Linked DNA regions of Homo sapiens: all the other regions are linked to region 1. Evidence: promoter capture Hi-C in human tissues and cell types (Jung and others, 2019). All regions are on one chromosome and are shown on one strand. Each heading gives the region's core, a stretch centred on a gene start or on the middle of the fragment in contact. The rest is flanking DNA. Distances are from core to core; before and after follow the strand shown. Region 1 holds the start of DHRS7B (dehydrogenase/reductase 7B). Region 2 has its middle 14 kb from the start of USP22. Region 3 overlaps USP22 (ubiquitin specific peptidase 22).

Region 1 (4,272 bases), core at 74-2,573:
GGTTCATATTGGGTTTGCTACAAGGATATTCAAACTTTGTGAATTGGCAAGCAGGAATCTAGAGTTTCCAGAACAATGGAGAGGGGCCAGAAAGGTATAAAAACTTTTGTGAAAACGTCAAAAATAAATATTTAGTTAAAAATAAAATTTCCCATTTTCAGATTTTGTGAATATCTGTAAGAATTTCCAGGATATATTAATTCGCTAAAGTTAATAAAAGCAAGAAACAGAAGGACGTTTCAGAATGCTATTGTTTGTGTAACAAGGGGGTGCTGAATACATACATAATTGCTTGGTTATGAATAAACTGGCTCTGGAAGGACACACATAGCTAATAGCATCGTTACCTAGGGGGAGGTGAAGTGGGTCCTGGAGAACAGAAAGGGAGATTTTCCACCTTACACACATTTGCCATCTTATGATTTTGAACGATAAGAGTCCCCCCGCCCCTTCCTTCCTCTGCCCTGCCCCTTCCTTCCTCTGCCCTTTACTCTCTCAATATCCTCTTTTCATGCTTTTTTTTTTTTTTTAAATCACTTCGGGTCCTTTAAAAAATTTACTTGCAAGAAGTACGTACATATTCTGAATAAAATTCATTTTCAGATATATGTATTACAAATATCTTGTCTGTTCTATTGTCTTTCCCTTTTCTCAATGGGGTCTTTTCGGTGTCTTATAGTTACAGACACCCAATTTATCAGCTTTTTCCTTTAGGACTGGCACTTTTTGTGTTCTGCTAACACGTTATTTTCCTCTCTTATGGTCATAATATTCTGCGATTTTATTGTCTAGAGTTGTATTGTTCACATTCAGGTCTACCATCCGTCTAGAATTATTTTACTTGAGATAGGAGTCAAGGTTCATTTCCCCCCAATCGACCTTCAATTGACCTAGCACTATATATTGAAAAAACTCTTCTTATTGCATTACAGTGGCTACTTGTAGGAGGAAAAAGTGACTACATAGCTGCAGGTCTGTTTCTGGTCTCTCTCTTTTTCATTCATTGTTTTTACCTTTGTGCCAGTTATCACACTGTTCTGATTACTGTGGCATTATAATCATCTTGATAACTGTATCGTGAATTCTCCAACTGTGTTCTTCGCCGGAAGTCCACGGAACACCAACCACGACCTTCGGAATTTCCCTCCGGAAGATGAAGGCACTGTAGTTATGCGGGTGGACCCTATCAGATCTCGGGTCCATCGGGTCCTGTGTACACCTTGAGGGACGCCCACCCAACGCGCATGCGCAGCCTCAATGCTGGGATTGGACGGAGCCTCGCCGGCTGCGTACACGTCACTTCCGAGGCGGGAGGATGAAGTTGATTGACTATGGTCTCTCCGGCTACCAGGTAGGGGCTGGGGAAGAAGGAACCTCCGAGATGAGGCGATAGGGTCTGGCCTTGAGCTGAGGCGACGCCCCGGCTTGGGTGAGGGGAAGCGGTGTAGTGGTCGAGCTAAGGCCGCGGGCCCTGGGCGGCTTCCGGATCCCCGCGACGCCGAACTCTGAAGGAAGACTCAGCCCAGGCGCTGGGACCAGAGCCCTGGCTCCGGCGAGTGCGTGGCGGGGAAACCCGCCTGTCGCCGAGGTGTCTTGAGTCCAGTTTCCGCTGCTGGGAATGGGTGTCGCGCCGGGCGCTGTGTGTGAAAGGCCTCGCGCCCACAGGGCTCCTGGCTTCAACCTGTTTATTCCCACATTTCTGCGCGACGTAGGGGAGGCTCCGCAGCGTCTGCGAGTGGCAGGACCGAGGGTTGAGCGCTGGGGGCCAGTGGCACCTTAGCCAGTGACGGCGAGTTAGGACTAGCAAAGGAAGTCCGGTTTTTCAGAAGGCAGGAGGAGGGTGCTGACTCGAGCGTCCACGGGAATGGCTGGTTGAGATATCTTGCTCTTCCAATACTTACTCTGCGGCTTCCTGGCTGTGCGGCTTTGGGCAAATGTTTTAAACTCTGAGTGTTTCTTCAGCTGTAACTTTGGGAGTAACAAGCCCACTCATAAGGTTGTTGTGAAGCGTAAATGAGACTGCGCGTGCAAGGTGCTCAGCTGGTGTCTGGCACATAGTAGGTATTCAACAAATGGTAGCCACATAATGCTCTTTTTTTCAGTTTCCAAACCTTCCATGTAGTGATTGGAGAATCGTGAAGTTACTTTTGAAGTAACGTTTGGGTTTCACACACTCATACATTTAGTAAGCAGAATTCTTGCTTACACTGTTGCCGATTGCAACGGTGTGTTTGCATAATGGAAGCTATGTTTGTGCCTTTGCCAAGGGTGTGGAATATGCCTTCCCTACCATGTACATGTCCCCTTTTCTCCATTCCTTAATAATAGTTGATATTTTTTGAGTGTTTGCTATGTTACAGGCACTGTACTAATCCCTTTACTGAATTATTCAATCCTGTAATAACCCTAATCATAGGAACTATAATTTTTATTTATGGAGGGAGAAATGGGCTTAGAGATGTTAAGAAGTTTATCCAAAGGCATAGAGCTATTAGCCAGGCAAGGTAGCACACGCCTGTAGTCCCAGCTATTTGTTGGGGCTGAGGCAAGTGGATTGCTTGAACCTGGGAGACAGGCTGCAGTGAGCCGAGATCACGCCATTGCATTCAAGTCTGGGTGACAAAGTGAGACCCTGTCTTGGCTGGGCGCAGTGGCTCACACATGTAATCCCAGCACTTTAGGAGGCTGAGGCGGGCGGATCACCTGAGGTCAGGAGTTCGAGACCAGCCTGGCCAACGTGGTGAAACCCCGTCTCTACTAAAAAATACAAAAATTGGCTGGGCGCGGTGGCTCACGCCTGTATTTCCAGCACTTTGGGAGGCCAAGGCGGGCGGATCACGAGGTCAGGACCTCGAGACCATCCTGGCTAACACGGTGAAACCCCGTCTCTACTAAAAAAATTCAAAAAAATTGGCTGGGCTTGGTGGCGGGCGTCTGTAGTCCCAGCTACTAGGGAGGCTGAGGCAGGAGAATGGCGTGCTCCGGATGGCGGAGCTTGCAGTGAGCCGAGATCCCGCCGCTGCACTCCAGCCTGGGCGACATAGTGAGACTCTGTCTCAAAACAAACAAACAAACAAAAATTAGCCGGGCGTGGTGGTGGGCGCCTGTAATCCCAGCTACTCGGGAGGCTTTGGCAGGAGAATCGCTTGAACCTGGGAGGCAGAGGTTGCAGTGAGCCGAGATGCCGCCACTGCATTCCAGCCTGGGCGACAAGAGCGAGGAGACTCCGTCTTAAAAAAAAAAAAAAAAAAAAAGTGACACCCTGTCTCAAACAACAACAACAACAACAACAAACAACAACAAAGGCATAGAGCTAGTAAAGGCCGATCCAATGCCATGTCACTCCAGAACCTAGCGCTTAGCTACAAATTTCATTCATTCCTTCAGATACTTATTGAACGTTTACAGTGTACCAGCATTGTGCTGGGTGTTGTGGATACAATGATGATCAAAACAGATAAAGCCCCTGTCTTTAAATTGCTTATAAATCTAGCAAGGGAGATAGTAAATATATAAATAAAACTAAATATTAATTACGATTGTGATGCATGCTGTGGAGGACAGTAGAGGGTGCTGTGAGGATACATAATGGAGTCACCGGCATGCGGAGGGGGAAATGAGGAGAGACAGGGAAGGCTTTCCCAAGAAAATAATATTTAGCTGAGACTTAAAGGACTGAGTTGGAGTTAAATTGGACAAAGAGCTAACAGGAGGAGGGAAGGGCATGTGTGAGGTCTTGAGACTAGGAGGAGCTTGTATCTTGTTACTTAAAGACCCCTGTGAGGCTGTAGGTGGTGGCTCACACCTATAATCCGAGCGCTTTGGGAGGCTGAGGTGGGAGGATCATGTGAGGCCAGGAGTTTGAGACTAGCCTGGGCAACATAGGGAGACCCCATTTCTACAAAAAATAAAAAATTATCTAGGCGTGCTGGTGTGTACCTGTTGTCCCAGTTACTCAGAAGGCTGAGTCAGGAGGATCACTTGAGCCCAGGAGTTTGCGGCTACAGTAAACTGTGATAATACTACGGCACTCCAGCCTGGGCAGCAGAGTAAGACCCTGACTCAAAAAAAAAAAAAAAAAAAAGAAAAAGAAAAAAATAAGCATTAAACCAGACTGGAATGTATTATGGATAATATGCTAATGCAGTTTCTTTCAGAAAAGAAATCCCACCACTTATTTGTATGCAGCTGAGCAGATACAACCCATTATGTAGTCTCAAGATTAATGGTAATTTGTCCTCTTATAAGAAGACTTGACAGCACCATTTGCTG
Region 2 (4,338 bases), core at 773-3,272, 70 kb before region 1:
CATCCTTTCCCGTTGGAAATCCAGAGGACAGTGACTGCTTTCCACCACATAGGCCAGCTGTGAAAATCCCTGGACCCCCCTTCACCATACAGTGCAACCTCACCATATGGGGGTTCGTGCAGCTCATTATGAGAATCACCCACTCATGGACACCCCATACAACCTCACCAAGACTGCCATCACCATGGGAGAGCCTGGCTTGTCTATCAACACAGACACCACTTAAGATTGAGAGCCTTGAAGGGTAAACAGGGTACCCGGAGGCATCCAGACTGAAGGAGTGAGGGCCACACTGTGAAGGGAGGTGTGAGGATGACCCTAGGACCACAGCTTGAACTGGATCCCAAAATGCCCTGGGCACAGTGCCACCTACAGCTTCAGAACCATCTTTATCTTATCCTGTCCACCTGGGAGTCCTCCTTCCCCGTCTCACCGTGATGACCTGCAGGAGTGTCTCTTAGCCACAGTCCTCCTCTGTGATTGTCAACCTATAGAAAATGTAAACTATAGATTTTAGAGAACCTTGTTCTGTAAAATCACGGACTGTCAGAAACTTTGCTGTTTGAAACCATGTTAGTGAGACTGGAACATTCTTTGACACAAAGAAGCAGCCTCAATTTCCAGCTGAAACAGGATTTTTCTCTTCTTTCTTTCTTTTTTTTTTTTTTTTTTTTTTTTTAGAAAAGAGCTTTTTAACTTTGGGAGGCTGACGTGGGCGGATCACGAGGTCAGGAGATCAAGACCATTCCGGCTAACACGGTGAAACCCCTTCTCTACTAAAAATACAAAAAATTAGCCGGGTGTGGTGGCGGGCGCCTGTAGTCCCAGCTACTCAGGAGGCTGAGGCAGGAGAATGGTGGGAACCCAGGAGGCAGAGCTGGTAGTGAGCTGAGATGGCACCACTGCACTCCAGCCTGGGCAACAGAGCAAGACTCGGTCTCAAAAACAAACAAACAAACAAACAAACAAACAAAGGAGCTTTTTAAGCACAACATCCTACATTTATTTTAACTTTGTAGTTTCTAAGGGAACAGGACCCTGGGTCGGCTTCTGATGTTAACCCCTTTATAGCTTTACACACATAATCCTGCTTGCTTCACGCCTATCCACAACACTGATTCATTTATATTGTACCTAACCTCCACCCTCCTCCAGATCCTGTAAGAACCCTGCCTCTATGTGGCCAGGCGCAGTGGCTCATGCCTGTAATCCCAGCACTTTGGAAGGCTGAGGCGGGTGGATCATGAGGTCAGGAGATCGAGACCATCCTGGCTAACACGGTGAAACCCCTCTACTAAAATACAAAAAATTAGCCGGGAATGGTGGCGGGCGCCTGTAGTCCCAGCTACTCGGGAGGCTGAGGCAGAATGGCGTGAGCCCAGGAGGCGAAGCTTGCAGTGAGCAGAGATCGCACCACTGCACTCCAGCCTGGGAGACAGAGCTAGACTCCGTCTCAAAAAACAAACAAACAAACAAACAAACAAACCCTTCCTCTACCTTTGTTTGAAGAGGACACCAGGTTCCTCAGGTAAGTGATCACTCTTGCTGCAAGGATGCTAAGAAATCCATTGTTTTGGGACTACAGGTTTGTCCCTGTTAGGTTGTATTACCGTCCTGGAAATGGTACATTTATAGCCTAACAAATATACAGGAATGGATTTTTACATCCACAGAGTAGAGAACAAAGAGAAAAATTGCCCCTCTGTCATCACAGAACTTTACATCATGTTTTCTAAAAGTTTAAAACTCAAAAATGTGGCCGGGCACGGTGGCTCACACCTGTAATCCTAGCACTTTGGGAGACTGAGGCAGGTGGATTGCCTGAGCTCAGGAGGTCGAGACCAGCCTGGACAACACAGTGAAATCCCACCTCTACTAAAAATACAAAAAAATTAGCCAGGCATGGTGGCGTGTGCTTGTAATCCCAGCTACTTGGGAGGCTGAGGCAGGAGAATTGCTTGAACCCAGAGGGCAGAGGCTGTAGTGAGCCGAGATCGCGCCACTGCACTCCAGCCTGTGTGACAGAGTGAAATACCATCTCCAAAAAAAAAAAAAAAAACCTCAAAAATGTTCCCTAATGTGTTATTCCCGTGAATAACTCATGTGACTCCTGTAGAGACATTCAGTAACACCCTCCCCTTTGAACTTTTGAACTGATGCTGAAGGAGAGCCCCCTTATTATAAAAATGCACGTTTAGATCTCTTTTCAGATGTGCAGCCTTTTTTTTTTTTTTTTTTTGAGACGGAGTCTTGCTCTGTCGCCCAAGCTGGAGTGCAGTGGCGCGATCTTGGCTCACTGCAAGCTCCGCCTCCCGGGTTCACGCCAATCTCCTGCCTCAGCCTCCCGAGTAGCTGGGACTACAGGCACCCGCCACCACGCCTGGCTAATTTTTTGTATATTTAGTAGAGATGGGGTTTCACCGTGTTAGCCAGGATGGTCTCGATCTCCTGACCTCGTGATCCGCCCACCTCGGCCTCCCAAAGTGCTGGGATTACAGGCATGAGCCACCGTGCCCAGCCCAGATGTTCAGCCTTTAAAAAACTGTTCTATGGAATGTTAGAATGAATATCACACTGAAGCCTCAAATAAGCACCAGCCACCCAACTGAAAGGGTGACCAACTTATGGTCATCTTGTCAGAAATTGCATCCTCTCAGCTGAACCCACAGCTAGGGTTGCGGCAAGGATGTTCCCTTGTCTGGTACCCTTGTTCCCCTGTTCCCTTGTTCCCTGGTCTGGTACCCCAGACCAGCCCTGGATGGGATTCCAAAGAAAGAAGCACCAAACGCCAGGGTGACCAGTGCAAAGCATGCATTAGGGCGCTTACATACATAGGGCTGTCACAGGCCTCAGGTGGCCTTCAGGGAAATGGGTGCCCCCCGGAGAGGAGCCCTTGGAGAGGGGCGTGGGGAAGGTGTCAGTTGCTACATGTTTAGCAAGATGTTTGATCTTGAAGTGTTTTGGACAACAACATAAGCAAGTTTATCAGTGCCTGGGAATGTTCAGGGCCCCAGCTCAGGTTCCAGCCCACAGCGGAAGCATGCAGCCAGCCAGATCACAGAGTGGCCAAGGTGCTCTCTGTGTCTCAGAAAGAAAGTGGGAGAAACTGGGAGACCCTACACATATAAGCTTCTAACCAAACTCCCCAATTCTACTTTATTTTTGACTATTTTCTAACCTAAAGAGAAGTCATAAGAATTATGCAGTGAGCACCCATAGACACTTCATCTAGATTCTCTAGTTAGCGATACGTTTTTAATCCAGTTTTCTTACCACTTTACCTTATCTCTCCACGTATATTTTTAATTTAAATTTTGTGTTTGAGTTACTTACAGACACACTTTGAGTTACTTGCAGACAAGCTAGAAGAACTAGTTTCTTCTGCAAAACCATGGTGCAATGATCATATACTGGAAATTTAACTTCAATACAATACATTCCCCTATACGCATTGCCTCATATACAATGCATTTCATAATCCATATTCAGATTTCCCCCTAATTGTACCAAAGGGTCTCCTATAGCTGTTATTAGTTTCCATTCAAAATCCAACCAAGGCTCTCACATTGCATTTGGTTTCGTGTCAATTGTGACAGCCTTGTGAAATTTCTTTATTATTTGTTTATTTATTTTTGAGACAAGATCTCATTCTTTCACCAAAGCTGGAGTGCAGTGGCGCAATCACAGCTCACTGCAGCCTCTACCTCCTGGGCTCAAGTGATCCTCTTGCCTCAGCCTCCTGAGTAGCTTGAACCACAAACCACAGCCACCACACCTGGCTTTTTTTTGTTGTTTTTTGAGAGACGAGACCTTGCTGTGTTGCCCATGCTATTCAAACACCAGGACTCAAGTTGAGCCATTGTGCCTGGCCTGAAATTTCTTTGTGTGCACAGGGCCCTCTCTTCCCTGCAGATCCCAAAGTGATTTCTGGTAGATATCTTGCGTATATTCAGATGTAAAAGAAAGTTTGTCATTTTGATGTGTTAAAGAACTTGGGGGGTCAAACAGTCCCAGACTGCCCAGTGAGCATTCTCTTTCTTCCTTCTTGCAATGCAGCAACAAAGTCTTGTTTTAAAATTATATACCTCTGGCTGTCTTTTTCCCACAAGGGGAGCTGCAGACAGAAGCTGAAGGAGCTGTGAGTCATGCAGTCAGGATAGGGCTCTCCAGGCCCCCAGGGAGGGAGGCAAAAGTGAGGAGATGCATGTTCTCTGCAGTTGCCAAGAACCTGGTGGACCAGGGTACCGAGAGGCAAGCCCTAAGCCACATGCCAGTCAAACACAGCAGAGAGGTGGCCCCCAGACCTCATTTCTACTAAAGCAGACATTGCTTAGACAT
Region 3 (4,524 bases), core at 1,926-4,425, 110 kb before region 1:
ACCCAACGTGTCCTGGCTCCCAAGGTGGCCCTGGGGAGGGGTGTGTGTGAACTCGGAAGGCGAGGGGCGCTCCTCAAGCAAGGACTTCCCAGTCTGGAGACCATCACAGTCACTGAGGGACTTGGGAGGAGGATAAACTCATGGGCCCTGTCAGAGGCTCTGAATCCACAGGTCTATCTCAGCTGCATCTAGAACTTGGGGCCTGTGACCCTAGGCAACACTGGAGACCCCTGCACATTTCACAGAGCGTGCCCAGGCCAGGCCCGGTGGCCTGCACTGGACAGTCAATGCTGCATTTCACAAGGCCAGTTCCTTGCTAGAAATTTATTTAACAATATAAAAAATGAAAACTTGCAGACTGGGAAATTTACTCTCGATATTTATACAGGATTTAAATCTTGAGACAATCTCCTACTAATGGAATTCAGTAGTTAAGGGACAGCGAGGAGGTCCAAATTGCTCAGAGCAAACTCGGTTTCTAATACTCAGAGACAAGGCCCCAAACGGTCTATGCTCCTTATAGAAAATGGCCCCCGTGACACAGGCAGCACTGGCCTTTCCCGATATTTGCTCGTCTTATGCAGTTTAGAAGTGACAGTCCATTTCGGGTTCTGAAATAATTTCGGTGGATCATGTCCAGGGTTTTTAAACTTCAACTGAAGTAAAGAACAGAGCCAGGCACGGTGGCCCATGCCTGTAGTCCCAGCTACTTGGGAGGCTAAGGAGGGAGGATCGCTTGAGCCCATGGGTTCAAGGCCAGCCTGGGCAACATACACAAGACCCCATGCCTGAAAAAAACAAAAACAAAAACAAAAAACCTGTAGCATGCACTGAGGTTGGGTGAGAGGGTCCCCTGACCTAACAAAGCAATGGATTCTCCCTGCACTCAACACTTGAGGCTCTAAGCAGAGACCACATCTGAGAAGAATTAGGGCCACTACATCAGAAAATGGAACCAGAAACCATAAAATAATGAAAACTAACACACTTCGAAGCACGTAGAAAAACAATCCACCATGCATGATCCACGCCTTCTTGAAGAGGGCTCTTTCACTTGGTCCCTGGTCAAGGACTGTAAGATGCAAAATGGTAGGGGAAGCTTCCAAGAACACACTGCTGGCTGTAGACAACAGCCAAGACCTCAACACGAAGGGCTCGCATCCCGAGGGGACACCTGCCCTACGACCTCCCCAAGAGGAAGCACCCCCACCCCACAACCTTCGCTCTCATGGCGTCTATTAATCATTTATCTCATAGCCTCCTTAAAGACCTCTCAGAGCACACACAGCTCTGGAGACTGGGAGGATGTCAGTACGGCCCCAGAGGGTTTGATATTGCCGAGCACGCAGCCTCTCACTTACTGGCAGACTTGGCAGGTGACGTCTGACTGCAACCCGCCTGTGAAGATCTGGTCTATGATGCAGTTGCAGTGGTTGGGGTTGTTGGCCTTCTTCCCATTGTCATCACCTGGAGACAGACCACGGCTCTGGGATTAGTGTCTCCCCAAATATGGGGAGTCTCTAAGGGAAGAGCAGTTCACCCTGCAGAAGCCTGGGGGAGCCAGGGCCAACGCTTTAAAAGGCCATGTGAGGACACTCCTCATTTTAGCAGAGGGTGTCCTTGTTATTTTAATATGACGAGAAATCACAGCACTTGGATTTTCAATGCTCCTTTTTCTCATTCCCTAACAAGAGCCCCACAGCTTCAGTCTTGCCAAGAAAACCCACCTAATGCCCAGTGACTGAGCAGAATAATCGATTCCCATTATCATATAAAGAATGACTGAATCAATATTGTTCCAGTGAGACAGCTGAACATATGGTGGGCCAGGTACACCCGGGGAAGCCCCAGCAACCTCCCTCCCTGAGTAGGTATCATGGTGCCCCAAGTTCAGAAAGTGACACCGCAGGACACAGGCTGTCCTCATCAGCTAGAGCCCCCAGGGGACAGCGTGTCTTCCAGTCAGTTGCATCTGGAAGTGCCACTCCCACCCTCTCTATTCAATACACACTTCATTCATATCCATGTGTGCAGATCTGTGAAAAAGAAACTTAAGTAGCAGAACTTAATTCGTGTGTGGAATACATATTCTACATAACTTCACTAGACAGTGGGGACAGGGCACGAGGACACCTGTATATACATCACAGTTCAAAGACGTTGAATCATGACAGAGGAATAGAGAAGGGCCACTAAGTCTTCTGAGAGCAGAAGGTTTAAGATTAGAGAGAAAAATGCTTCCCAGAGGGATCTCAAATTCATGGGACAAAATTCAGAGGACAAGAATATCCATACAGGAAGGCGCAAAGAATGATGAACAGAATGGCCAGGCGCGGTGGCTCACGCCTGTAATCCCAGCACTTTGGGAGGCCAAGGCGGGCGGATCACGAGGTTAGGAGACCGAGACCATCCTGGCTAACACGGTGAAACCCCGTCTCTACTAAAAATACAAAAAATTAGCTGGGCATGGTGGCGGGCGCCTGTAGTCCCAGCTACTCAGGAGGCTGAGGCAGAAGAATCACTTGAACCTGGGAGGCGGAGGTTGCAGTGAGCTGAGATCGCACCACTGCACTCCAGCCTGGCGACAGAGCGAGACTCTGACTCAAAAACAAAACAAAACAAAACAAAAGATGAACAGAAAGATGCCGTGAAGGCCACAAGGACAAAATGCACGTAACCAAGGCCATGTGGCCAGGCCACCTCGCTGAACAGCTCTGGCAACCAGGTTTCTAAACAGAAGAACCTTACATTTCTTTTCAGACATTTCCAAGGGAATTCTGTCAGAAGCACGTCAGAGGTCACATTTTGTCATGTGAACATTTAACAGCAATGCATTTTTGAACAAGTGATTTTTAGAACATCTTTCTGCTGCTTACAGAAGGCTCTTCGTTATTCTCACTAGGTGCTTGGGGTAACAGCATAGTCACTTCCACAGTGGCTCTTTCCTCTCTTATAAATCATACTAGGACATGAAATTCTACCTAAGCTACTAAGTAACTTTCCTTTGATTTCTAGGTAAGAATTAAAAGGATCACGTAGTTTTTCAGAGGAAAAAAAGTAAGTACCAAAAGAAAACAGAACCCAAAGTCACATTTGACCAAAACCAGCCATTTTAGCTCAACTGTGGGTTGTTTCTGGGCTGTGATCTCAGAACCCATAGGTTGTACGTAAGCGCCTAGGGCCCGGGTGCACAGCCTTGAGACGGATGAGAAGCGATGGGAAGGCCAGCCCACCAAGCTGTTCAACTCGGTGAACCGTCAGAACAGGACTCTGTTCTCTAAAAGACTCCAAGTTAAAATTAACTGATAGGATATCGGCTACAACTAGCTGTGCCAGCCCAGAGACCACAGGAAACTCACAAGCAGCCAGGTGCCCTGTGACCTGAGCGCATGGGTTCTCAGAGTATGGCATCTGAACCAGCGGCATCAACATCAGCTGGGAACTGATTAAGAGTGAAGAAGCCCCTGCCCCCCACAGATCTGCTGAATCAGAAACGCCAGCACGGGCTTTAGGAAGACCTGCAAGTGACCAGCCCACACTCATCTGAGAATCACCTCTCAGTCTCTCTGCCTGTATGGATAGACTTCAGCTGCAGGTCCCTCACACTGGGATCTCCACCATGAGGAGTGGGGAGGAGCCGATCTTGGCTCAAGTCATTCATTCCCAGCCTCCCACCTCCAGCGCTAAGAGCTGCCCCTGCCAACTACCAACACCACACAACTCTGAAAAATCATCAGGGTACCACCCTGGGGCCAGGCTGTGGGACTATGTTGGGGGAGATGGCCCAGGTCCAATGAGACCCCAAGAGAAGCTTTGCTCGTCCTGTGTCCCAGCTCTCTGGCTATTTCAGAGCAACCATCAGTCCTTTTGGAGAGTCCCCAATGGGAAGGAGACAGTTGGGTGATTAAGTTGTGTTTGGGGGATGTCCAGAAGCCTCAGGCCTGATAACCCACAGGGTCCCAGAAATGCCAGGGCAGGCAGGGGCCTCAAAGCACAGGCCCAAGAGGGCTCCAAGAGTTTGCTGTTCACTGTGATCGGTCACTGAGGACCTGTCATACTGCTGGAACTACTTCCTCGCCTCTTAAAAATAAACTAGGAGGAGCCTCTCTGAGGTCATTAGTTATGGTGACTTCAGAAACAAATGACGACAAGGGCTATGATGACAAAACAATGGAATGTGTCACCTGTGCCCCTTTTTGCACGAGTGCATACACTCGCTTTGCTTCCTTCCCCTTCAAGGAAAACATCCTGCCCTGGTGGAGGGTGCAGAGCCCAGGGCCCACCTTTGCAGTGTCGGTGGAGCACGTCCAGGGCCGCGATGAGGAACTCGTGGGCGTCCTGCTGCTCGTAGCCTGCTAGGTGCCTCGCGTGGGTCCACACCAGGTGCAGCAACTTATACGGGATGTGAGGGGACCGGTGTCCAGAGTAAAACTGCCAGAGGGCGGGGAAGGAAACCTTGTCAGGAATAAATGTAGACTCTGAACACAGAGTACACACAATCAAAACCTTTATCAGATGCCTACC

Evidence for each region. The method cuts DNA at HindIII sites, captures the fragments that hold promoters and counts their contacts. A contact is called where the count stands out against the background at its distance.
Region 2: a contact is called between a fragment that was not itself captured here and the fragment with the promoter of DHRS7B in region 1, in 2 of the 25 tissues and cell types used here (dorsolateral prefrontal cortex and lymphoblastoid cells).
Region 3: a contact is called between a fragment that was not itself captured here and the fragment with the promoter of DHRS7B in region 1, in 2 of the 25 tissues and cell types used here (IMR-90 fibroblasts and heart right ventricle).

What each region holds. Positions count from the first base shown.
Region 1 is chr17:21,125,641-21,129,912 of GRCh38, forward strand. DHRS7B (dehydrogenase/reductase 7B) reads left to right here and starts at 1,324. Exons shown (of 7, transcript NM_015510.5): 1 at 1,324-1,351. The coding sequence starts at 1,332. RefSeq lists an enhancer at 986-1,645. The HindIII fragment of the contact is 17,830 bases long and covers 1-4,272 here.
Region 2 is chr17:21,054,565-21,058,902 of GRCh38, forward strand. No RefSeq gene overlaps it. Among named protein-coding and RNA genes, the nearest start is that of USP22, 14 kb to the left of the region's middle. The HindIII fragment of the contact is 4,660 bases long and covers 1-4,338 here.
Region 3 is chr17:21,011,469-21,015,992 of GRCh38, forward strand. USP22 (ubiquitin specific peptidase 22) reads right to left here. Exons shown (of 13, transcript NM_015276.2): 6 at 4,284-4,431; 7 at 1,362-1,467. Among named protein-coding and RNA genes, the nearest start is that of USP22, 29 kb to the right of the region's middle. The HindIII fragment of the contact is 7,119 bases long and covers 1-4,524 here.